2 separate regions of the Homo sapiens genome follow, and region 2 is linked to region 1. Evidence: promoter capture Hi-C in human tissues and cell types (Jung and others, 2019). All regions are on one chromosome and are shown on one strand. Each heading gives the region's core, a stretch centred on a gene start or on the middle of the fragment in contact. The rest is flanking DNA. Distances are from core to core; before and after follow the strand shown. Region 1 holds the start of COLEC11 (collectin subfamily member 11). Region 2 overlaps RNASEH1 (ribonuclease H1).

Region 1 (7,580 bases), core at 5,050-7,549:
CTTCTTCCAATGTGGCCCAGGGAAGCCAAAAGACTGGACGGCCCCGGTGCGTGTGAACACAGCTTTCCACTTCTCTGGAATAATTCCTAGAGTGCAGCTGCTGGGTGGTAGTGTGGTTGTACGTTTAGTTTTTTGAGGCACTCTCGGACTTTTCCAGCGTGGCTGCACCATTTCTTTTTTCTTTCATTTTTTTTTTTTTTGTGACGGAGTCTCACTCTGTTGTCCAGGCTGGAGTGCAGTGGTGTGATCTTGGCTCACTGCAACCTCCGCCTCCTGGGCTCAAGCGATTCTCCTGCCTCAGCCTCTGGAGTAGCTGGGACTACAGGCATGCGCCACCACAACTGGCTAATTTTTTATTTTTAGTAGCGATGGGGCTTCACCATGTTGGCCAGGATGGCCTCGATCTCTTGACCTCGTGATCCGCCCGCCTCAGCCTCCCAGAGTGCTGGGACCACGGGCCTGAGCCACCACACCCAGCTGGCTGCACCATTTCACATTGCCCCCTGTTTCCCCTCATGCCAGCATTTGGTGTTGGGATTTTGTTTTAGCCACCTTGATAGACAAGTCGTGATAGTTCACTGTGGGTTTTGTTTGCATTTCTCTAATGGCTAATGGCGTTGAACATCTTTTCATGTGCTTATTTGCCGACTGTATATCCTCTTTAGTGAAATGTCTCTTCATGTTTTTGCCCATTTGCTACTTGGGCAGTTTGTTATTTTCCTGTTAAGTTCGGAGAGTTCTTTCTATATTCCCGACACTCTCCTTTGCTGGATTTGTGGCTGACAGATGCTTCCTCCCATCCTGTAGCTTGTCTTTGCATTTTCTTCACGGGGTCTTCTGCAGAGCAAAAGGTTTTAATTTTGGTGAAGTTCCATTGATCAGTTATTGCTCTTATAGATTGTACTTTGATGTTAGAATATCAAAGAATGATTTGCCTAGCCTTAGATCCTGAAGATTTTTCTTCCATTTTTTCTAAAAGTTTTGTAAGTTTACATTTTACATTGAAGCCCATGATCTATTTTGAGATAGTTTTTGTATGAGGTGTGGGGCTTATATTGGGGTTCATCTTTTTTGCCTATGGACGTCCTGTTGCTCCACACCGTTCATGGCACATGCTGTCTTCCCTCCACTGAATCGCTTTTGTACTTTTGTGAGAAAGCAGTTGAGTGTATCGGTGTAGATCTAGTTTCGGGTTCTCTGTTCTGTTCCATTGTATAATGTCTTAGAATTGGGTAGATTGATTCCTCCTATTTTATTCTTTTTTTTTTTTCTTTTTTTTTTTTTTTCTTTTTTTTTTTTATTTTTTATTTTTTATTTTTATTTTTTATTGATCATTCTTGGGTGTTTCTCGCAGAGGGGGATTTGGCAGGGTCATAGGACAATAGTGGAGGGAAGGTCAGCAGATAAACAAGTGAACAAAGGTCTCTGGTTTTCCTAGGCAGAGGACCCTGCGGCCTTCCGCAGTGTTTGTGTCCCTGGGTACTTAAGATTAGGGAGTGGTGATGACTCTTAACGAGCATGCTGCCTTCAAGCAGGGCAGAGGGGTTCCTCACTTCCCAGTAGGGGCGGCCGGGCAGAGGCGCCCCTCACCTCCCGGACGGGGCGGCTGGCCAGGCGGGGGGCTGATCCCCCCACCTCCCTCCCGGACGGGGCGGCTGGTCGGGCGGGGGGCTGACCCCCCCCACCTCCCTCCCGGACGGGGCGGCTGGCCGGGCGGGGGGCTGACCCCCCCACCTCCCTCCCGGACGGGGCGGCTGGCCGGGCAGAGGGGCTCCTCACTTCCCAGTAGGGGCGGCCGGGCAGAGGCGCCCCTCACCTCCCGGACGGGGCGGCTGGCCAGGCGGGGGGCTGACCCCCCCCACCTCCCTCCCGGACGGGGCGGCTGGCCAGGTGGGGGGCTGACCCCCCACCTCCCTCCCGGATGGGGCGGCTGGCCAGGCGGGGGGCTGACCCCCCCACCTCCCTCCCGGACGGGGCGGCTGGCCGAGCGGGGGGCTGATCCCCCCACCTCCCTCCCGGACTGGGCGGCTGGCCGGGCGGGGGGCTGACCCCCCCACCTCCCTCCCGGACGGGGCGGCTGGCCGGGCGGGGGGCTGATCCCCCCACCTCCCTCCCGGACTGGGCGGCTGGCCGGGCGGGGGGCTGACCCCCCCACCTCCCTCCCGGACGGGGCGGCTGGCTGGGCAGAGGGGTCCTCACTTCCCAGTAGGGGCGGCGGGGCAGAGGCGCCCCTCACCTCCCGGACGGGGCGGCCGGCCGGGCGGGGGGCTGACCCCCCCACCTCCCTCCCGGACGGGGCGGCTGGCCGGGCAGGGGGCTGACCCCCCCTCCCCCCTCCCGGACGGGGCGGCTGGCCGGGCAGAGGGGCTCCTCACTTCCCAGTAGGGGCGGCCGGGCAGAGGCGCCCCTCACCTCCCGGACTGGGCGGCTGGCCGGGCGGGGGGCTGACCCCCCCACCTCCCTCCTGGACGGGGCGACTGGCCAGGCAGAGGGGCTCCTCACTTCCCAGTAGGGGCGGCCGGGCAGAGGAGCCCCTCACCTCCCGGATGGGGCGGCTGGCCGGGCGGGGGGCTGACCCCCCCCACCTCCCTCCCGGACGGGGTGGCTGCCGGGCGGAGACGCTCCTCACTTCCCAGACGGGGTGGCTGCCGGACGGAGGGGCTCCTCACTTCTCAGACGGGGCGGTTGCCAGGCAGAGGGTTTCCTCACTTCTCAGACGGGGCGGCCGGGCAGAGACGCTCCTCACCTCCCAGATAGGGTTGCGGCCAGCAGAGGCGCTCCTCACATCCCAGACAGGGCGGCGGGGCAGAGGTGCTCCCCACATCTCAGACGATGGGCGGCCGGGCAGAGACGCTCCTCACTTCCTAGATGGGAAGGCGGCGGGGAAGAGGCGCTCCTCGCTTCCTAGATGGGATGGCGGCCGGGCAGAGACGCTCCTCACTTTCCAGACTGGGCAGCCAGGCAGAGAGGCTCCTCATATCCCAGACGATGGGTGGCCAAGCAGAGACGCTCCTCACTTCCCAGACGGGGTGGCGGCTGGGCAGAGGCTGCAATCTCGGCACTTTGGGGGGCCAAGGCAGGCGGCTGGGAGGTGGAGGCTGTAGCGAGCCGAGATCACGCCACTGCACTCCAGCCTGGGCACCACTGAGCACTGAGTGAACGAGACTCCGTCCGCAATCCCGGCACCCCGGGAGGCCGAGGCTGGCGGATCACTCGCGGCTAGGAGCTGGAGACCAGCCCGGCCAACACAGCAAAACCCCGTCTCCACCAAAAAAAAAAACGAAAACCAGTGAGGCGTGGCGGCGTGCGCCTGCAATCGCAGGCACTCAGCAGGCTGAGGCAGGAGAATCAGGCAGGGAGGCTGCAGTGAGCCGAGATGGCAGCAGCACCGTCCAGCCTTGGCTCGGCATCAGAGGGAGACCGTGGAAGGAGACCATGGAGGGAGACGGAGACGGGGACGGGGACGGGGACGGGGACGGGGACGGGGACGGGGACGGAGACGGAGACGGAGACGGAGACGGAGAGCTGATTCCTCCTATTTTATTCTTTTTCAAAATTGTTTTAGCTATTCTAGTTCCTTTCTCTTTTCATATACACTTTAGAATAGCCGTGTCTATATCTACAAAAATTATTGTTATGATTTTGATAGAAATTGTGTTAAGCTTGTACTGTATATTAACTTGGGGGAGAATCAACATTTTTACTCTGTTGAGTCTCCCAATCTATACTTTTTAATTTTCATTTTATTATTTTTGAAACAGGGTCCCACTCTGTCACCCAGGCTGGGGTGCAGTGGTGCGATCTCAGCTAACTGCAACATCCACCTCCCGGGCTCAAGTGATCCTTCCACCTCAGCCTCCTGAGTAGCTGGGACCATTCTACTATGCCCGGCTAATTTTTGTATTGTTTTTGTTAGAGACAGGGTTTCACCATGTTGCCCAAGCTGGTCTTGAACTCTTGGACTCAAGTGATCCTCCCACTTCAGCCCTGCAAAATGCTGGGATTACAGGCATGAGCCACTGTGCTTGGGGTGAGTCTCCTAATCTATGAAGACGACGTGTTTCTCTGTTTATTCAGATCTTTTTTGAGGTTTTCAGCAGCATTTTGTAGTTTTCAGCATGTAAGTTCTATATATGTTTTGTTAGATTTACACCTAAGTATTCCTTTTTTAAAGCAATTGTAAATGATATTATTTTGAATTTTGGTGTCTATGAGTTCATTGTTATTTTATAGAAATCTGCTTGGTTTTTCATTGTTTATTATTTTTTTGAGACAGAGTCTCGCTCTGTCACCCAGGCTGGAGTGCAATGGCACAACCTCAACTCACTGCACCCTCTGCCTCCCGGAGTCAAGTGATTCTCCTGCGTCAGCCTCCCGAGTAGCTGGGATTGCAGGCATGTACCACCATGCCTGGCTGATTTTTGTATTTTTAGTAGAGATGGGGTTTTGCCTTGTTGGCCAGGCTGGTCTCTAACTCCTGACCTCAGGTGATCCTCCCACCTTGGCCTCCCGAAGTGCTGGGATTACAGGTGTGAGCCACCACGCCTGGCCTACTTGGTTTTTTAAATGTTTGCCTTGTATCCTGTCACCTGTCACACTGATTTAATAGTTTCCAGGAGCTCTTTTGTAGACTCTGGGATTTTCTAAGTAGACAACCATGTCATCTGCAACAAGGGACAGAGTTATTTTATTTTTCGAATCTACATGCTGTTTATTTCCTTTTCGGGCCCTGCTGGTGTGCCTAGAACTTTAGCACTGCATTGAGTAAGAGGTAAGAGTGGACACCCTTGCCTTGTCTTGATCTCAGGAAGGAAACATTCCATTTTTGCCCATGAAGTATGATGTTAGCTGTGGCTTTGCCTTTGACAGATGCTCTTTATCAAGTTGAGGAAGGTCCCCTGCACCTATTTTTCTGAGAGTTTTTATCATGAAAGGTGTTGGTTTATGCCAAATGCTGTTTCTATATAAATTGAGATATTCATTTGATTTTCTTTGTTAGCTTGTTAATGGGTTTTTATCAAAGGAGCTTTGAATATTGACATAGCCTCACATTCCTGGATGAAACCCCATTTGGTCATAGTTGATAAATCTTTTTCTATATTGCTGAATTCTGTCTGTTAATATTTTATTAAGGATTTTCTCATCTATATTCATGAGGGTTATTGGTCTATAGTGTTTTTGTTCTGTCTTTGTCTGGTTTTGGTATCAGGGTAATAATCAACTTTATAAAATGAATTGGTAAATATTCCCTCCTCTTCTATTTTCTGGAAGAGGATGTGTAGAATTGGTGTTAATTTTTCTTTAAACGTTTTGTAGACCCTCCTGTGAAACCATCTGGCCCTGAAATGTCTTTCTGGGGAGCGTTTAAATTGCAAGTTCAATTCCCTTCCTTGGCATAGGGCTGTTGAATTATCTGTTTCATGCTGGGCATGTTGTAGTTCGTGTTTTCAAGAAGTGGTTCATTTTGTCTAAGTTGTCAAATTTATGTATAACTTCAATAATACGTTTTAAATAAAGAATCCATTATTTTTCCTTAATTTTATTATGTGTGTGGAATTTGTGTTTTTACAGTTTTATTTTATGATTTCTCAGTCTAAATAAATATTCACCTTTGAACCTAGCTTCTTATGATTGTAATTTTATATGTATCTTTTTCTTAAAGAAGGTTCCGCTATCCCCCAAAACATGCAAGATTCGGGCTGCATAGAAGCTGGATCTGTCCAGCCCCTGACTAACATTTGTTTCTGGCATTAAATGAAACTTGCCTTTAAATGAAACTTAAATGCGTAGAGTGAGTTTCCGGACTCACGTGTGGCCAGGTCTCCACAGGCCGTGGTCAAGCTCTTGCTGACTTTTGAAGCGAAATCCCATATGAACAAAGGAAAGGAGATCAGTCAGCTGCCCTCGTTTCTGTCTGATTGGTGCCAGGTGATGAGCGTCCCTCCTCTTTATGCTCTTTTGAATTTCCACAGTAGTCATGCTTATTTTTTCAAAAAACGAAAAGAAAGAAGAGAAAGCCAAAAAAGAAACAAAATTGGGATGTTCGGGTTGGAGAGTTAGCAGGGGCATCTCCAGGAGGGTCCTGCCCCCCACCCCAAAGCCGGCCTCAGGGAGTTCCAGGCGTTCCCACACTCCCCAGGCAGGACGGTGGACGCAGCGCAGACAGGAAGCTCCCCGAGATAACGCTGCGGCCGGGCGGCCTGATTTGCTGGGCTGTCTGATGGCCCGGGCCGAGGCTTCTCCCTGCGCCTGGGACTGCGGCCGCCTCTCTAAATAGCAGCCATGAGGCGCCTGGGGGCAGTGTCCTCGCGGGCCAGCGACGGGCAGGACGCCCCGTTCGCCTAGCGCGTGCTCAGGTAGGAGACTCTGCCCGGGGCTGCAGCTGAGGGTTTCACGGGGCTATGACAGTGCAGAGGGGAGGCAGGCAGGCTTCCAAACTGGGCGCGAGGTGGGCTCCTGCTGAGCGAGGAGGATGGGAATCTGTCCCTAGATCCAGGCAAAAGATTGAGTCTCAATAAATCTGGCACCAGAGTTCCAAAGTTTGATTAGTTCATGGCGGAAATTCGTGGAGCCTATTGATGAGATGGGATCCGACCCATGAGAGGTGCTGGATGATGGAGTCACCCTCTTGGGTGGCAGATTTCAAACAGCCCAAGGCCCAGGGGGCTAAACAGTCTTCGCTAATTCCAAACCGCAGTGCAGTACCTGGTCTCACAACCTGACGATTGTTCCTGAGCCTGAGCAGCGTCTGACGGGCCAGGCGGACAGCAGCCACGACTGCCCCCAGGGACCAGTGGCTCTGTGTTGGGCTCAGGAACGGGGATCAGAGAGGTGGGGGAAAGGTGGGCCTTGCTTTGGCAACTTTCCAGGGAAAGACTTTGAGTTCAGATGGGGTCATCTAAAACCAAGTGGGGTCATCTTGTCTCCAAAATTGGAAAGGAGGAAAGTTTCCTAGGGCCGCTGCCTCCTACCTGGATGCCTTGCGCTAGGAACTGGCGGTCTTTTTAGAGCTGAGGTGATGTGGTCGTTCTCAATTTAAAGATGAACGTTTAAAGCCATCTCATGTGCATAGCTGGAATTTTGGTTTGATGGGAAGCACTTTGCCTGTGGTAGGCAGAGCACTGCCCCAATCTTTCACAGCTATTCGATTTTGTTTACAATTTTGAAAAATCCATGTACCGTAGAAGAGAGCACACCGGTAATGTGCTGACCGCTGGGGGAAGATAAGAGAGGATAGGTGCCTTCTTACTCTGTGCTCTTGGTAAGAAGCTAAGAGGAGCGTGTGCTGTTGTGGGTGGAATCCAGGCTGCCCCAGAAGGTGCTCTGTCACTGTAGGGAGGGAAACACCGCGGTGGGGCTGGGGCAGTCCCCAGTGAGAGGAACCTCCTCATGCTTCAGGGATGTGGTTCTTAGGAGGTATTTGTGGTGCCTGTAAGATGCTGGGCCTTGCTGTAGATACTTAATGAAAAAGTAGAATAGCATGTTTGGCAACTGAAGCCATGATTTTTTCTCATTGTCTATTTCATTTTTTTTTTTTTTTTTGAGATGGACTCTGGCTCTGTCACCCAGGCTGGAGTGCA
Region 2 (7,127 bases), core at 1,345-3,844, 55 kb before region 1:
CTACATATTATACGAATCTCAGATACACACACTGTGCCATGTCACAGAGTTTCACAGAGCAGATGGGAGCTGCAAAGACTGGGGTGGGATCTGAACACCTCAGCTAAGCATGTGTCCACCTGGCCACTGGGGTTTCTGCTGGTCAGAGTCCCACAGCACCGATGCCCTTTACCTGCCCTCTTTGAAGGCAGACCTTTCGAATATTTTTTATCAAATATTTATTAACAGGTATTACAACATGATTCAAAGATCAAGGTAACATATAAAAAGGCTAGGCACAGTGGCTCATGGCTCTAACCCCAGCGTGTTGGGAGGCCGAGGCTGGAGAATTGCTTGAGCCCAGAAGTTGAAGACCCGCCTGGACAACGTAGTGAGACCCCAGCTCTAACAAAAATAAAAATTAGCTGGGAATGGTGGCACACACTTGTAGTCCCAGCTACTCAGGAGGCTGAGGCTGGAGTATCACTTGAGCTCAGGAGGTGGAGGCTGCAGTAAGCTTTGACAGCGCCACTGTACTCCAGCCTAGGTGACAGAGCAAGACCGTGTCTCAAAAGAAAAAAAAAAAGATGAAAGAAAATCTTTTTGGCTGGGCACGGTGGCTCATGCCTGTAATCCCAGCACTTTGGCAGGCCAAGGCAGGCAGATCACCTGAGGTCAGGAGTTCGCGACCAGCTTGATCAACATGGAGAAACCCCATCTCTACTAAAAATACAAAATTAGCTGGGCATGGTGGTGCATGCCTGTAATCCCAGCTACTCGGGAGGCTGAGGCAGGAGAATTGCTTGAACCCAGGAGGCGGAGGTTGCGGTCAGTTGAGATCGCACCATTGCACTCCAGCCTGGCCAACAAGAGCGAAACTGTCTTAAAACAATTTTTTTTTTTAAGATAGCATACAGGCTGGGCACAGTGGCTCACACCTGTAATCCCAGCACTTTGGGAGGCCGAGGCGGGTGGATCACATGAGGTCGGGAGTCGGAGACCAGCCTGGCCAACATGGTGAAACCCTGCCTCTACTAAAAATACAAAAAAAGTAGCCGGGCGTGGTGTTGGGCACCTTGTAGTCCCAGCTACTCCGGAGGCTGAGGCAAGAGAATTGTTTGAACCCAGGACGCAGAGGTTGCAGTGAGCCGAGATGGCACCACTGCACTCCAGCCTGAGCAACAAGAGCAAAACTCCATCTCAAAAAAATATATATAATATATATATATAAAAGATAAAAAGATAGCATACAAAGACGCACACCCCAGCAAGTCTCATTACCGCCCTGTTCCCACCCACAGCATCCTCTCCCCATTCCCAGTGTAATAGAGTAATACTTCACTGTTTGTGAATTTTTATTTATCCTCTTTGACACAAAAGGCAGCCTGCTGTAACATGAATCAGGTACTTTCCTTTTTCCACTTAACAGTGCCCAGAGCACCTTCTGGTCTGTGGGTACTTATGGGGTCTGTCACTCTAACGCTGTTTATTCCACGGCCGCTTCAGGTCCCAGTATAGTTTCCAGTTCTCTGATATTAAAAACCTGGTCATCTTTTATTTTTATGTGTGCAAGGTGTATCTACAGCATACAATCTGCAGAGTGGGGACTGGTGGATTAAACATCAAAGCATTTGTAATTCTGAGAGTGGGCCACGCCTCTGTCTGGTGTTGAGTGGTGCCCATCCGCACTCAGCACCAACACAGGTGAGCACACGTTTCCAGGCAGCCTCAGCAACATATGCACTGTTGCTAATATCATACAGAGAAATGATGTCTTGGTGTTTTAATCTGCATTCTCTCGTGAGTAAAGCCGAGCATCTTTTCATTCCTAAAGGGCCATGAGTATTTCTTTTTCTGTAAACAATTTGGCCAATCCATTCTTCTGAGTTGTTAGTTTTTTTTCAATTTCTAGTTCTTATATATTAGGGAAATTAGTCCTTTGTGATATGAGTTGCAACTTCTTTTCCTAGTTTGTTTTTGCTTATGGCTCTTCAAAACCTTTTTATTTATACGTAGTCTTCTTTCATGATTGCTGGATGTTAAATCCTAGGTTAAAGACCCTTGTTTACTGTTGAGGTACTGCTTTTAATATACACGAATCTGTGCATATTTAGGTTTAGAGAACAGCTCTGTCAGCTGCGGGCAGAGACAGCGGTCCACTTGCCCTGTTTCCCACTTCATTCATATTTGTCTTTGTCCAAAACCCTACCACCATATACTGGCGGCTTCCCGTATCACCAAAGAATCTTAATTTGGGGGCGTATTTTGATGAAAGTTGTTCTTTGACAAATACTTATGTCAACACAATATCAGAGTCACCTTGTGCCAATTCCTGTCTCTCAATGGGCAATTAAGAACCAAAGCTGCTTGAACGAGCTGGCCAGCATAGTCAACGCCTTCTGTGTGCCAGGAGACACAATGCAGGCAGATGCAGCCGGCCCTCCCCATGTTACCCCTGAGTGTTTACGAACTGAGGAACCACGACCACCACGATCATTGCTACGTGTTTTGTTCTGATGACATCCTGAGTTCTGAATGTCAGCTCATCACGTTATTAAAAAAGGGGCTTTAGTTGAGTGACCTATTCCTTCTTGCTCCAGAACTACTAGAATATTAGAATTAGGAAAAAGACCAGAAATCTACCCCGAGGCCCTCCTTTTCAGCCACAGCATCTGTGGCCCAGACTTGCTCAACTTGAAATGAACATCACCTGAAATCAGGAGTGCAGCTTTCATTGGTTCCTATTTACAGTTACCCAAGCTGTCCACCAGCCAGGAGGGCTTTTTCTTTCTCGTTTTGTTTGACCTCCGGCTTCGTGCACTTTTGTGCCTGTCCTACAAGATGGCAGAGTGGCTACCTTCAGGCTTCAGCAATGGGGTGACACCGTGACGCTCCAGTACCGGCAGACACCAGGAGGGGAGTTCTGCACAAAGAACATTTCTTCAACGGCCTCTATTTGTGCGGCACGAACATCCTATTAAAGCAGCACCAGTTGAAAGCTTATATATTCCACAATATGTAGCACAATCTGATATGACAGTCACTCAAATATTTTGATTTGGAGCTGATGAAGATGCAATTATATATCATTGTTAAGTTTCTAAAGATATAAAAAATGCAGCTGATTTTTTGATTCTCAGTAATATATTTTCTTTTAATAAAAAAAAAATTGCCCCCTAAAAATTTAAGATTCCTCTTTAAAAGTGGTTGGACCTTTCCTTCCCTCCGGCTTCATGCACTTTCTGCTGTACTGACATCACTTTTGTTTTTTGTTTTGAGACAGAGTCTCACTCTATTGCCCAGGCTGGAGTGCAGTGGCACAATCTTGGCTCACTGCAACCTCTGCCGCCTGGGTTCAAGCAATTCTCCTGCCTCAGCCTCCCGAGTAGCTGGGATTACAGGCACCTGCCACCGCGCCTGGGTAATTTTTGTATTTTTAGTAGAGATGGGGTTTTACCATCTTGGTCAGCCTGGTCTTGAACGCCTGACCTCGTGATCCACTTGCTTCAGCTTCCCAAAGTGCTGGGACTACAGGCGTGAGCCACTGCGCCCAGCCAACATCATCTGTGTTGTGAAAATCCCACAGACCGTAAAGTTTCTAAAGGCACAACTTTTCATCTATTTCCAATTCTGGTTCAATTTTTTTTTTTTTAAATCACAGATTCTCAGAAGACAGAGGCAGCAGCAGGAGCATGCTTTTTGAATCTTCTCAAATCCCCACCTAAAAACAGAACTACTAAACAGCAAAACCAAAAAACTTATGGACATTTGTAACAGAATGAGGTGACAAGTGTTGACAAGGATGTGGAGTGAACTGGAACTCTCCTGCCTGACTGGAGGGAATGTAAAGTGTAAAGTTCACACTTGGAAAAGTTTCACAGTTTCTTAAAAAGCACACACCAGCTGGCTGGGCTCACACTGTAATCCCAGCACTTTGGGAGGCCGAGGCAGGCGGATCACGAGGTCAGGAGATTGAGACCATCCTGACTAACACAGTGAAACCCCACCTCTACTAAAAATACAAAAAAATTAGCCGGGTGTAGTGGCGGGCACCTGTAGTCCCAGCTACTCGGGAGGCTGAGGCAGGAGAATGGTGTGAACCCGGGAGGCAGAGCTTACAGTGAGCCAAGATCACGCCACTGCACTCCAGCCTGGGTGACAGAGTGAGGCTCCATCTCCAAAAAAAAAAAAAGAAAAAAAGAGCACACACCTGCCATATGACCAAGCATTCCATTCCAAGGCATTTACCCAAGAGAAACAGAAGACAAAGACGAGGATATAAATGTTCACGGCAGCTTTATTTGCTTTATTTTTATTTAGAAATTGGAAATAATCGAAATATCGGTCAACAGGTAAATAAATAAACTGTGGTATATCCATGCAATACAAAATGTGGATTATTGATGTACACAAAATGGGTGAATGCCAAAATAATTATGCTGAGTAGAAGCACCTCCCCCCACAGTACTTGCTCTGCGATTCCACTCAGATAAAATTCTAGAATATATAAATTAACCTTTAGTGAGAGGGAGCAGACCAGTGGTTGCCTGAACATGGAGGACACGAGGGACGGTTTAGACCGGGGTGTGAAACTGCTGTTGGTGGTGATGGACATGTTCTGGCGACAGCTTCACAGGCAAATGCATCGGTCACTTCACGTATGTGCAGTTCATTACCTGTCAGTTACACCTCAACAGAGCTGTTTTAAAAAGCAAGGTGGGGCCGGCTTTGGTGGCTCACACCTGTAATCCCAGCACTTTGGGAGGCCAAGGAAGGAGGATCGCTTGAGGCCAGGAGTTTAAGACCAGCCTGGGCAACACAGTGAGACACTGTTCCTATTTTAAATAACAAAACAAAACAAAAGTGGTACAATAACAACTTTTAAAACTCAAAAAGAAACAAAGAAAGAGATAAAAGAGATTCAAGAGACAGTGGCAAACACTGAGAACAGCCAATTTAGATTTCAACATACAGATAACAGGGATCCCCACAGAAAAAAGCCAAAGCAAGAAAAATGTAACACTAAACTCCAGTTCAAGCAAATCTTCTTAAAATAACAGATATGAAGTACACATAGAAAGAGCACACCATACGCTTGCAAATATGGACCAGGACAACCAATACCAACACATGACACATTCGAATAAAACGGCCGACTTGACAGAAAAAGGAAAAAATCCTTTGGGCATCTAAGGAAAAACAGCATATGACTGTCAGGGGAAGAAAACAAGATTCATCAGGCTTTTCATGCATCACTTTATGCTGGAAGAAAACAGAATAAAACAAGATACTCAAAGAAAATCTGGGCCAAGAATTTCGTATCCAGCAAAACTGAATTCAACATCAGAAACTCAAGGAATACTGTCCCCAAGATGACACTGACTATAGACTGGTTATGAGACCTGAACACACAGAAATGAGTCAATGGTGGTAAAAAGGAGCAATTTTTCTGACAACGTAGACACAGTGCTGTTTTCATCATCACAATTAATGCTATGGTATTAGTATTTTTTTTAAATGCTAAATGCTAAAGAGGAATAAAACAAGTGAGTGATTAAGGGATGGATATTCCATGCCATTGTCCTGTGTCTTGAGAAGCAGGATTCCGAGTGCAGGAGACACAGACATCATATAGAGGAGGCTATGTAAAGGCCCCAGGACCCTGAATTTGTATTGGGAATATCAATATAGGCTCAGAAAATATTCTTCCTTTAAATATGTGTGTGCAATGTTTGTATTTTTTTAAAGCTCCGTCCAAAAATCTAGAAATAATGACCAACGCAATAGCAATGAGCATCCTAAACTGGATCTGAAATACCATCTCTACCAGAGACTCTGGGAAAAATAATGGATTCCAAGTGTTAAACGGAATTAAGTTTGGCCTAAAACTGCCTCTGTACATAGTGACTTATAACCTCACTTAATGTATAAGCAAACTGGGACCTGACTTGAGAGTACACTTCTGTAACAAGCAGCAGAGTCTCACCAATCACATGCTGAAGGCTCCCAAAACATGCCTATGTGAGGTGGAGGCTGACCTGCAGTCAGTCTGGCCATGTACATGTGTCTTTCCCTTCCTGTGGCTATAAATAAATACAGCCTGCACACAACGCACAGGAGAACGTTCTGAACCACTTTTGGTCCTGAGTGCTACCCAGCTGAAGAAACTATTTTCTGCTCAATTAAACTGCTAACTTGTCTAAAGTTTTTCTTTTAAGACAGGTTTGGAGCAGAAGCTCTATAAATTGGGCCTAGAGCATCTTGACATGCCAGGCTGCAGGGAGCTATCAATGACTGTGCGTGTGGTCTGTGCACACATGTATGCACACATGTGCACACTTATCAAAAGAAAGCAAGAGCCAAGCTGAAGAGGCTCCCTCTCACTGACCGAATAAGCTAGTCTGAGCTAAATAAAGATAAAAATCACAACGGATTGAAACCCACCAAGTATGCTTAACTCCACAAATTCTTTTTTTTTTTTAAGACAAGGACTTGCTGTCGCCCAGGCTGGAATGTGGTGGCATGGTCACAGCTCACGCATCCTCGACCTCCTGGGCCCAAGCGATCCTCCCATCTCAGCCTCCAGAATAGCTGGGACAACAGGCAGGCACTACCACACCCACCTGATTTTATTTTAATTTTCTGTAGAGACAGGGTGTCACTATGTTGCCCAGACTAGTCTCAAACTCCTGGGTTCATGTGATCCTCCAGCCTCAGCCTCCCAAAGTGCTGGGATTACAGGCATAAGACACCATGCCCAGCCCATGAATTCTTGTATATATGTAAAAACCCTTCACCACTCACCTTCCTTGACAGACAACTAATGCATTATCTTAAAAACTTAGTGTACAAGAGCAAAGAATCAAGCATTTATCCTGCCCTTCCTATATGAACTGTACCACTGGGTAACCAGATAAGTATAAAAAAGAAAACACTTTCTTAGAAAACCATTCCAGCTAATAAAGGCAAGCAAAACGACAGAATGAGAATACCACCATTTTGCAACCCCAAATAATTAATGGATCTTGGCACTGAGCATCAGCTGCCGTCAACATGGTACTTTCCTGAGGAAAGCTCCTAACCGCCTGTTCTCCTGCCAAAGGGATCAAATTTGAGGCTCATCAAGCCTCTGGACCCAGCTGCCAATG

What was found. The method cuts DNA at HindIII sites, captures the fragments that hold promoters and counts their contacts. A contact is called where the count stands out against the background at its distance.
Region 2: a fragment that was not itself captured here is called in contact with the fragment with the promoter of COLEC11 in region 1 in 1 of the 25 tissues and cell types used here (thymus).

Annotation. Positions count from the first base shown.
Region 1 is chr2:3,588,813-3,596,392 of GRCh38, forward strand. It overlaps COLEC11 (collectin subfamily member 11), which reads left to right and starts at 6,300. Exons shown (of 7, transcript NM_024027.5): 1 at 6,300-6,356. The HindIII fragment of the contact is 12,548 bases long and covers 1,790-7,580 here.
Region 2 is chr2:3,537,172-3,544,298 of GRCh38, forward strand. RNASEH1 (ribonuclease H1) reads right to left here. Exons shown (of 8, transcript NM_002936.6): 8 at 4,259-7,127. Among named protein-coding and RNA genes, the nearest start is that of RNASEH1, 18 kb to the right of the region's middle. The HindIII fragment of the contact is 6,767 bases long and covers 1-5,978 here.